Linked DNA regions of Homo sapiens: all the other regions are linked to region 2. The links are contacts of gene promoters, found by promoter capture Hi-C in human tissues and cell types (Jung and others, 2019). All regions are on one chromosome and are shown on one strand. Each heading gives the region's core, a stretch centred on a gene start or on the middle of the fragment in contact. The rest is flanking DNA. Distances are from core to core; before and after follow the strand shown. Region 1 overlaps LOC105371657 (a long non-coding RNA gene). Region 2 holds the start of BRINP3 (BMP/retinoic acid inducible neural specific 3). Region 3 has its middle 24 kb from the start of RGS21.

The links. Contacts are between HindIII fragments. The study calls those that stand out against the background at their distance.
Region 1: a contact is called between a fragment that was not itself captured here and the fragment with the promoter of BRINP3 in region 2, in 1 of the 25 tissues and cell types used here (dorsolateral prefrontal cortex).
Region 3: a fragment that was not itself captured here is called in contact with the fragment with the promoter of BRINP3 in region 2 in 1 of the 25 tissues and cell types used here (dorsolateral prefrontal cortex).

What each region holds. Positions count from the first base shown.
Region 1 is chr1:189,460,805-189,464,466 of GRCh38, forward strand. The region is part of intron 3 of LOC105371657 (a long non-coding RNA gene); the gene reads left to right. Among named protein-coding and RNA genes, the nearest start is that of LINC01701, 310 kb to the right of the region's middle. The HindIII fragment of the contact is 3,303 bases long and covers 557-3,662 here.
Region 2 is chr1:190,476,363-190,479,962 of GRCh38, forward strand. It overlaps BRINP3 (BMP/retinoic acid inducible neural specific 3), which reads right to left and starts at 1,502. Exons shown (of 8, transcript NM_199051.3): 1 at 1,086-1,502. It overlaps BRINP3-DT (BRINP3 divergent transcript), which reads left to right and starts at 1,898. Exons shown (of 3, transcript NR_110716.1): 1 at 1,898-2,130; 2 at 2,720-2,778. The HindIII fragment of the contact is 15,526 bases long and covers 1-3,600 here.
Region 3 is chr1:192,291,247-192,294,566 of GRCh38, forward strand. No RefSeq gene overlaps it. Among named protein-coding and RNA genes, the nearest start is that of RGS21, 24 kb to the right of the region's middle. The HindIII fragment of the contact is 3,430 bases long and covers 41-3,320 here.

The DNA.
Region 1 (3,662 bases), core at 958-3,457, 1.0 Mb before region 2:
TGGATATACTTTCTGTAGCAGCCCGAAAAGAAATAGAAAAATATCACAGTTTGAAACCATATAGGTCGTTTTGGTTGTTTTGTAATTTTTATTCTTAAAAGACATTACATTATTATAAAGACATTGTAAACTTTACCCATAAAGCTTGCAGAATGTTGTGCATTAATTCGTAGGATCAGAATTAACAATAAAACTCAAGCACCATATTTGTCTAGAAAAACCACCTCTCAGCTAACCAGTGAACATGGATATAAATAGACCCTGAAATCTGCTCTTGGTTAATTCACTGACTTAAAGCACTGTGACAGATAAAACAAGTTAAACATAATTAAGAAGGCTAGCATATTATCTGGGATTCTAGTGCAAAAGAAATATGAAGATAACCTCAAGAGGATGACCTAGGAGGAAGACAAGACTCTAGCCAGGATTTTGAGTGCTTACTTTATAAAGCTGTCTGTAACATCTGTAGCAGCAATGTTCACAATAGCAAAGACTTGGAACCAACCCAAATGCCCATCAATGATAGACTGGATAAAGAAAATGTGGTACACATACACCATGGAATACTATGCTGCCATAAAAAAGGATGAGTTCCTGTTCTTTGCAGGGACATGGATGAAACTGGAAACCATCATTCTCAGCAAACTAACACATGAACAGAAAATCAAACACCGCATGTTTTCCCTCATAAGTGGGAGTTGAAGAATGAGAACACATGGACACAGAGAGGGGAACATCACACACTAGGGCCTGTCAGGGGGTGTGGGTCTAGGGGAGGGATAGCATTTGCAGAAATACCTAATGTAGACGACAGGTTGATGGGTGCAGCAAACCACCATGGCACGTGTATATATGTAACAAACCTGCACATTCTCCACATGTATCCCAGAACTTAAAGTATAATTTTAAAAAGCCATCTTTAGAAGAACTTATGAATGGTAATATTATCAGAAGATAAGCCTAAAAAGCTTAAATGTCTTAAATTCATTTTTAGTTGTATTGTATGTTATATACTCTGGGGAAAGAAGGATGGAGATCATGTAAAATGGACTAACGATTTTCCTTCTCTGCCTCAAACACTTTTTGTCAGCATTATCACAATAAGTATAGTTAGTTGTATGTTGTGCTAAACACATTAAAGTCTTCTTATTAATACCCATTTTAACCTTATGTGGTAGGTTTTATTGTCAGTATAAATCTAGGTTAAACTTTTTAACCAGAGTAGATGATGGTTTCAGGGCCAACACTAGTCTGTTGTCCTCCTAAGCCCTCTTGAATATTATAGTATATTCTTCCCATGGGAGTCCAAGAAAAGCCTGGAAAAAACAAGGGATCAAGGGAATGGAGGAAGATGTTTTGTGGGAAGAAGATATATGAGTTGTACTTGAGTATAAATCATGCATAGTGGTGTGCTATGAAGTCTCTCCACACATGACCGAGTTTACCTCATAGAGCCTTCAACAAAATTTCATATCTGATTTTCTTTGAAGTAGTCTGAGTATTAAAGAAAAGAATGGAAATTTGATCCAGGGTTAATTGCAGAGATAACCAGAGATGGCTATAAAAATACTATAACTATTTTTAAGCTAGACAGCTATTTGTCTTTTAATATAAACTCAGTAATTGATATGCCTAAACATTCTGTCCAATATCAGTGAATATTTTTCTGACTTATGATTTATTATTTTAACTGACAGATAAAATTCTATACATTATATGTCTTAAATTATATATACATGTGGAATGACTGAATCTAGCTAATAGAAATATGCATTACCTCACATACTTGTCATTTATGTGGTGAGAACACAAGTGTTTTAAATATGTTTGCCAAATTTCAGTTAAAAAACAGAATTAAATTTAAAATGCCTATAATTCACAATGTGGCCATAAAAATTAATCGGATCAAATGGATCAAAGCCATTCAAATATATCCTTATTAACTGTTCTTGATATGGTAAAATGTAGCTCATATTGTTTCAGAATTTGATTTTTTAGATGTGGTTATAATTCTGCCATACAAAGAAAGCTGCATGGTTGAGAGAGATTTCAATTCCAAACTTGCAGTACAAAAACAACACTGCCACTTACCAGCCCTGCCACAACTTGCAAATCACTTAAGCTTTCTGAGCTCCATTATATTCATCTAGGAAGTAGGATCAATGCACAAAATATTTTCAGTGAATGCAGAGTAGGAGATGACAAAAAGAGCCATGCTCTAATTCCACTCCACATGAACACTTAAGATATTTCTCTCCAGAAATCACCTGTAGACAATAGAAAAATAAATTCATACCCACTTAGTTAACTGTGTGAGAATGTAAATTTAAAGCATTTTTGACTAGGGAAACTTTATCATAATAAAATGCTTTAATTTCCCTGCGCATGAAATATTTCCCCCAAGGAATGTATCTATTAATGGCATGCTATGATTAATTAATTGGTTCTGGGAACTATTATACCATATTAGTCACTTTCACATTAGTGTTCCCAAGAGTGGTGAATAAATAAGACAGTCACTGCACTTCTACATGTCCATTTTCTGCCAAGACGTTTTGCTGATGTGCAGTTTCTGTGCAGTTTCCCACAGTGTACTTCTCGGCTGACTTAGTTCAAGCTTTGTTAGTTTAATGCTTAGAAAAGCCTCATGTTCTTGCAGAAAATCTTTTGCTCTCATTACTTTTTTGTGATATTATGGACAACAATTTCCCTAGGGAGCATGGCAATTGATCCCAGCAGGATTATTTACGGTGACATGGTGGCACTGTTGCCAATGGGGGCATTGTCAAAGGGTAGGCTCCTTCAATGTCAATTTTAACCCAGCAGCAAATTCTGCAGTACTAAATAATTCTGTCTATTTTCTTTCTAGTCAGGTAACTGCTGTCAAATTAAAGAGGTCTTCAAAACTCACAGCACAGTTTTGCTTTTTCATTACTACATCTGCAATTTGATTGGTGTTATATATTTTCTTGCATGAATGAACATCAATTAAAGGAGATGAACATTTATAGGAAATTTATTCAACTAGAGAGGGTTGCAATTTTTACATGTCAACCATCTGAATTCATATTGCAGTGATATTTTTGGAAAACAAGAACTTGTAGATTAAATAAGTTTTATTAGTATTTCAAATAAAATAAAATAATTTTCTTAAAATATTAAAGCAAAATCACTGATATATGCCTATTAAAATATTAAATTAAGTAAATATGGTATTACTACTAAAATAACTTACATTTCTGACACGTCACTTACATTTTAATTCAGCCTTCCTAATAATCCAACTATATACCACATATTGTTATGATGAGGTAACTAATCCTCAGAGATACAGATAACCTTTTCGAATTAGTGTATATATTAAGTTTATGATGGAAGTTTTTGACACTACATTTAACATTTTTTTTCTATGCTACGTTGGTCCTTTCCCTTCAAAAGCTCTTGAAGAACATTGAAAGAAGGCAACGGCCTTCATCTGCATTTCAACCATCAAAGCAACCATCACCCTTGTTCACATACCTATCGTGAGACAAAAAGAAATACTTACATTAATTTCTAACATCATCTCACAGAGTTAATATTTTATTTGTGAACATTTTACATCCACTGTCAGCATTTTTCAAGAACACAATATATTGGTAACTAAAGTCACCATGTTGTAC
Region 2 (3,600 bases), core at 252-2,751:
GGGGCGGATGTTCAGAGAAAACCCTCAGTGGGTGTTAAAAATTACCGATACATGCAGGTTTGGCATTTAATGAATATCGTGCTTTCCTCATTATGTGTCAATTGTGAAGTAAAAGTAAAGATTAAAATGTTTCTCAACACAACTATACGGAAGAGGAGGTGATAATCTTGTCAGTTAAGTCCATAGAAATGTTCATAAAAGCAAAAGGCACTGACCATATTAACATGCCTATTAAACACAAGGGTTGGGGGCAGACAAGTATGAAGAGTGAGGCAATTAAATTTTTCATGTAAAGTCTATTCTTGAATTTCAATTTATCAGAACCAAGATAATCAGGGGTTTCTTCTGATTGCTCCTCTCTGAAATGAGTACTCTGTGTCCAATTAACTGTTCACCAGCTAATTCACAAAATCAGAAATGTACTGACAAATACTATGCCTGAATTAAAATACAATGCCTAAAATAACGTGCTTATGTGTGATTTGAAATATTTTAAGAAAAAAAAATGGTGCCCTCAAAACTCACAGTCCTCTTCCTACCATTCAGTGGCATTTTAGTGCTTAAGGTCTTGCTAAATTCATAAAAATACACTTTGCAACAAAGTCTTCCTTCAGTCATGTAATTGCTTATCATGAACAAATGCTGACCTGAACAACCTTCTGAATATCCGACTAGCGAACTTTCCAGACCTTGCAATTGTCAGAAGGTCTCTTTTAAGCTCTCTCTTAGATAAACCTATAAAATGTGACATTTCAAATGGCACAGGAATGTGTGCCAAGAAGGGTTAATGGGGGTGGGGGCGATTAATGTCCGTGTAACCCATAATATAAATGAGGACAAATATTTTAAAAATAAAGAAGGTAAAAGATATTGGGGTAATACATGGGATATTGGGGTAATACATTACATGGGTTATGTCTTAGCAGTGCAGTTGCCACTAACATACTAATTAATAAATATGGCCATATGGATCTTTCAGTTCTGAAAGTAACAAAAATGTGAAAAATGAAATACTTCAACAAAACAGAGCTTATTAAAAATAGCAATAGTTAAGTTTCTAGTAACAGATAAAGAGAATAACTTACCAGAGGAAATTTCAGGAAGCAAGAAGACTGTGAGAAAAATACATCCAGGATTCAAATAGATATTCCATGATCTTCCAAATCAAGGTAAAGTAGTGAGCTGCAGGGTAGTAGGACTTTAAAATAATCAGCAGTTCCTGGTGGCATGTAACCAAGTAAAAACCAGTTACACAGAGAGCCACGAACCCCCAAGGCAAGAAAGCAGAATGTGAAAATGCTTTATATGGGGGGGTGGGGAATGGTGGGGGGTGATTCGTGGTGATCCTTAAGCAAAGTGAAAATTTACAGGCTGCACATCCCCATACAGTGGGGAAAGGCAGAAGCTGTGTAACCCCAGAGAACAGGAGGTGGAATACAGATAAATCTGCAAAGAGAAGTAAAAGGATGTGTTGAAGACAACGAGATAAAGAGAGAACTAGTGAGCAAGGCTGTAGTCATCCTGATAGATATAGCAGCAAGAATGATTTAGGCTGCTGGGGAGGATCCAATGAGAATTCAAGAGGGCACCACTTCGGAAATCCTGCTCTGATCTTCCCACTCTCAGTTCTTTAAGAGTTACCTGCGTTGGGACCATTATCATTAGGATTAATAGTATTCCATCAGTGCATTTCACTAGTATTTCCCTTGAACATTTTCACTTGCAGCAACTGAGGGAGGCGTAGTAAGGAAGCCCAACACAACCAATTCCCCCACTCCCCAAATAAACCACTACGACCGGTCACATTACGATGACCAAATCATCAGCGATTTGCACGAGGCGGTGGGGGGTGGGGGGTGCGGGCGGTGATCGAAGGGCTGAAGATGCGGAGGAGGCCGAGTCGCTAGGCGCTTTCGGGGGCGCTGTGCCGGTGAGGCTTAGGCAAGGGGACGGGGAACCGTGGTTAGATGCAGCAGCGGCGGCAGCAGCCCTCCCAGGTCCCACTTCTTTGGCGTTCCTGCTGCCTGTGACTCAAGACAATTGACTTCCACCTGAACCCTCAGCTCCGAACGCCTTGCATTAGAAGCTAGAGCTTTGGAGGTTCTGAGGACGGTCCCTGGGGAGCAAGTGGTAGGTTTCGAGGCGCCCGCTTCCCCTCTGATTCCTGCAGTAACTGAGAGAGAGTGTGCCAGAAATGGCTTTGCTGCCGAATGCATTATCTTGCCATTTTCGTGTCCCAATACTGAACAAACGATCGCCTGATCGATCGGTAAGATTAGCTTTATTCCTTCTCCCTATTCCTCTCCTTGGCCCCATTCCCTCTGCAAGTCCAAACCCCAGTCTCTCTCTCTCTCTCTCTCTCCCTCCCTCTCTCTCTCTCTCTCTCTCTCTCCAGGAACTTCTTCCTCTTTGAAACCGGTTTCCCAAGGGAACTGCCTGTGTGACTGAGAGGCTAGTAATCTGTTTGTAGATGATTTATATTTTGGCTGCAGAATGAATCCCCCTCCCTACTCGGAGTACTCTCCTTAGAGATGATCCCCCGCCCCCTCCCCATGGGTTCGCTCTCAGAGCTGGGATCTGTATAAAGAGCGCTGTGGGAGTCTTTTGCCCTCCGCTCTAGCTCTATCTTCCTCCGGACCCCGAAGCTTAAGAATTATCCGCCTCACTCTCTTTTTTAGAAATAGGAGGGAAAGGTAGAGTGGAAATTGATTTCTTGCAGAGACTGAGGCGCTGAATGATAGAGGGAATAAACATTTGCCCTGGATAAAAATGTTCTTGGTAAGTAATCTTATTTTCTGCGGTTGAAAAAGAAACAGATTGCTTCTCACTGCCCCATCCCCCACTCCATTCATTTATTTGCTCTCTGTATGTAAATCACGAGCTGGGTCAGTGGAAATTTTTTTTTCCTCTTCCCTAGGAGAGTAGTAGCTTGTAAGGGTGAAATTGAAGTAGAGGGTTTTAAGGAGACAATATGAACGCTTTAAGGTCCTTTATATCCTGCATTAAAAACTCAAAGACAGATAAAGCAGTTAAATCCCTGTTTGTTTCCAAAAGTGGTATTTAAGTATTTCCCTTATTTCCTACTAACTGTCTTTCCTTTCTGAAAATAAAGAAAAGAGTTTTAGGTAGTGGGCTCATGTCTATGCTTTTAGTATGTCTTGGCCATGTTCTGAAATACAATTTCAGTTCCAAAATTAAGAATGGTTATTTTTCACATTTCGCAGGTATATTAAAGCTATAGAAACCACTTATTAAATGTGCATCTCGGTTCCAATTATTGCACCAGATACAAATTAGTAGTATCCACAATGGCATATTGTGGTGGTACTACAAATTCATAAAGCCCTCTGGTTTTCCATGAGTCTCTAGCACCCCCAGCCTGTGCACGCTCACAATGTGAAGAGTGGATTGGTGTAGCAGTAGGGAAGAAGCCAAACGGCTCTTGATTGTGCTTACATCATATGTCATTAAGTGTAGAGAATAACATGTTTTGCAAATTGTGTGAACTTGGTTTTCAAGAGTAAGCTGACCATTTTTGATGCACAAAATTAAGGGAGATTTGCTCTCAGAAAAATCATTGCATTTTTAATTATAAAATAT
Region 3 (3,320 bases), core at 506-3,005, 1.8 Mb after region 2:
TATGGCAATGTTATTGTTTCTATTGCCATTTATTCTACTTTGTTATTTGATCTGATTAGGGGGAGAAAAAGGAAGTAGGTCATGTCTGTTGCCATTTTGCTCTAAAGACAAGCCGTAGTGGGAAATAATTAGATGTAGCATATCAGCACAGTCACCTAAAACAAAAAAATAATTCTGCAATTTCTACATTATCTTTGTGATTTGAAAAATCCTGATCCTCACACCCTGAAGGTAGCTGTTAGGCAGTTTTCTGCCTTAAATGGCAGAACACATCAACCAAAACTGACTTAAACTATAAGAAATGTTGGAGTTTTATTTCATGTAAAAATAAGTCAAGGGGTGGGATGAGCCCCAGGCCTCAATGCTCTCGTTTCTCTTTCTCTGATATTCCCTAGTGTCTGTGCTCTGCTTGGGGATAGTTTAAGAACTTCTTGTAGGAAGATGATGGAATGTAGTAGTTACATTTGTTTCACAACCAAACGCAGCAAATCCAGAAACAGAAAAATAGCATTTACTCTTGTGCTTCTGTCTTAGAATGAAATAAACTTTTCCTCACTGCTTGGGATAGATGTCCACTGGTAAGGAGAATGAGATTACCATAATTCATTTAAAGTCTTAAGCAATTTTCAAAATTTAAGATCTAATCTTGAAACTACAGATGAGTTAACTTTGTCATATAAGAAGTAGAATTTTTTTGTTTTTTTTTTTTTTTTTAGAAAATCAAGGCTCTGTTAGAAAGAAACATGGGTTGGGTAGATAGCTAACCACAGTATTTGCTACATTGAACATATTTTCACTGCCATGAAAAAAATACCAAAATTTGTTAGATAATAGTTTACTGATTTTATACATTAATTATATTATAAGTATATAAATATGTAGGTAAAAATGTTTACATGGTCACCTTTGTTTAAAATAATGAAAAGATCTGCATTTCCAACTGATTTTTGTATCACTTCCTGGAGAAATCACACAATCACCTTGCTTAGAAGCCAGAGTTTTCCATGAGAAATAGGATGGTGGGGCTCAGGCCATAGCTCTCTGAGTGACTTCCATGTCTGAACTAGCAACTGTATGACAAAATCAGACTGATAGTTTCCAAAGTGCTTTGTTCAGACCAGCAATATCAGCATCACCTAAGAACTTTTTGAACACACAGACTCTTGGACCCCGCCCAAACCTACTGAATCAGAAACTCTGGGTGTGAGGACTTGTAAGTCCTCCAGGTGATTCTGACCATGTTAACATTTTAAAACTCTTTTTAATTTTTGTGGGTACATAGTGGGTGGATATATTCATGGGGTATATGATATATTGGGGTACAGCCATGCAATGCACAATATTATCATAGAAAATTGGGCATCCATCCCCTCAAGCACATATCCTTTGTGTTACAACAATCCAATTATCCTTTCAGTTATCTTAAAATGTACAAATAAATTATTATTGACTGTAGTCCCCTTGTTCTGCTATCAAATACTAGGTTTTATTCTTTATGTCTATTTTTTGTACCAATTAACCATCCCCACCTTCCCTGCCTCTGCCACCACCCTTCCCAGCCCCTGGTAGTCATTCTTCTATTCTCTATCTCCATGAATTCATTTGTCTTGATTTTTAGACCCCACAAGTAAGCCGGAACATGTAACGTTTGTCTTTCTGAACCTGGCTGATTTCACTTAACATAATGACCCCCAGTTCTGTCCATGTTGTTGCAAATGAAAGAATCTCTTTTTTATGGCTGAAGAGTACTCCATTGTGCATTAGTGCCACATTTTCTTTATCCATTCATCTGTTGATGGACACTTAGGTTTCAGACCACATTAACCTTTGAAAACCACTGGAAGCAGCTCTGTTGTCAATTTTTCATTTTACCAATTGTGCCAGTTTATTTAAATCTTCTCACCCCACTACAGCTCCATAGTTCTAGTGTTTTCATTCCGGTTTTTTTCCTTTTTTTTTTTTTTTTTTTTTTGAGACGGAGTCTCGCTCTGTAGCCCAGGCTGGCGTGCAGTGGCGCGATCTCGTCTCACTGCAAGCTCCGCCGGCCGGGTTCACGCCATTCTCCTGCCTCAGCCTCCTGAGTAGCTGGGACTACAGACGCCCGCCACCACGCCCGGCTAATTTTTTTGGATTTGTAGTAGAGATGGGGTTTCACCTTGTTAGCCAGGATGGTCTCGATCTCCTGACCTCGTGATCCACCCGCCTCGGCCTCCCAAAGTGCTGGGATTACAGGCTTGAGCCACCGCGCCCGGCCTGCTTTTTTTTTCTTACTCTGCTACATACGGTAAAATTAAAACCATTTCTCTCACCCACTGCCCTGTCCAATACAGTAGCAGCAGCCACATGTAACTATTGAAATTGAAATTAATTGAGCTTTAAAAATTGAGGCATGCTAGCCACATTTCAAATACTCAATAGTCACATATGGCAAATGGTTACCATATTGAACGGCATAGATATATAGAGCATTTTTATCATTGTAGAAAATTCTACTGGACAGGGCTGAACTAGAGCATCACAAATTCAAGTTTTTTTACAAAACACTTTTAAGTAACATGCACTAAACATTTTTTACATATAAAAGTGGCGTCAATCTAGAATATATTGAATTGCTGGAAGAAGAGTTATTCACCTTTAATTCTCTTGTATAAGTTTGTGGTTTTCAATCTTGGAAATATGCCAGACAATATATTCTGAAGACAAAAATGACAAAATTGCTTTTTTGAAGACACATAGCTTCTGGCCAAATATAACAAATATTCTTTTCAATGAATAACTGAGCTTGGAAAAAAAGATGGGCAGGTGAGAACTCCAAGGTACATGAAGCTTTGCCAATCTTGGAAACTGGGCGGCTAATTTTTTTTTTTTTTTTTTTTTTTTGGCAGGGGGAGGGATGGATTTTCACTCTTGTTGCCCAGGCTGAAGTGCAATGGCGTGATGTCCGCTCACTACAACCTCTGCCTCCCGAGTTCAAGTGATTCTCCTGCCTCAGCCTCCCGAGTACCTGGGATTACAGGCATGCACCACCACCACGCCCGGATAATTTTGTATTTTTAGTGGAGACGGAGTTTCTTCATGTTGGACAGGCTGGTCTCGAACTCCTGACTTCAAGTGATCTGCCTGCCTCAGCCTCCCAAAATGCTGGGGTTACAGGCGTGAGCCACTGCACCCAGCCACAGGAGGCTAATTATTTTAAGGTCAGTTCAATAACAGGAGACAAAGATTTTGGTGTGAAATAGAAATTAGATCTCTAAATAAATATGAGACAATTGAAGTCTCCTCACTCAGTGAAAGGGTGGGCTAGAAAAGACACTGATGCA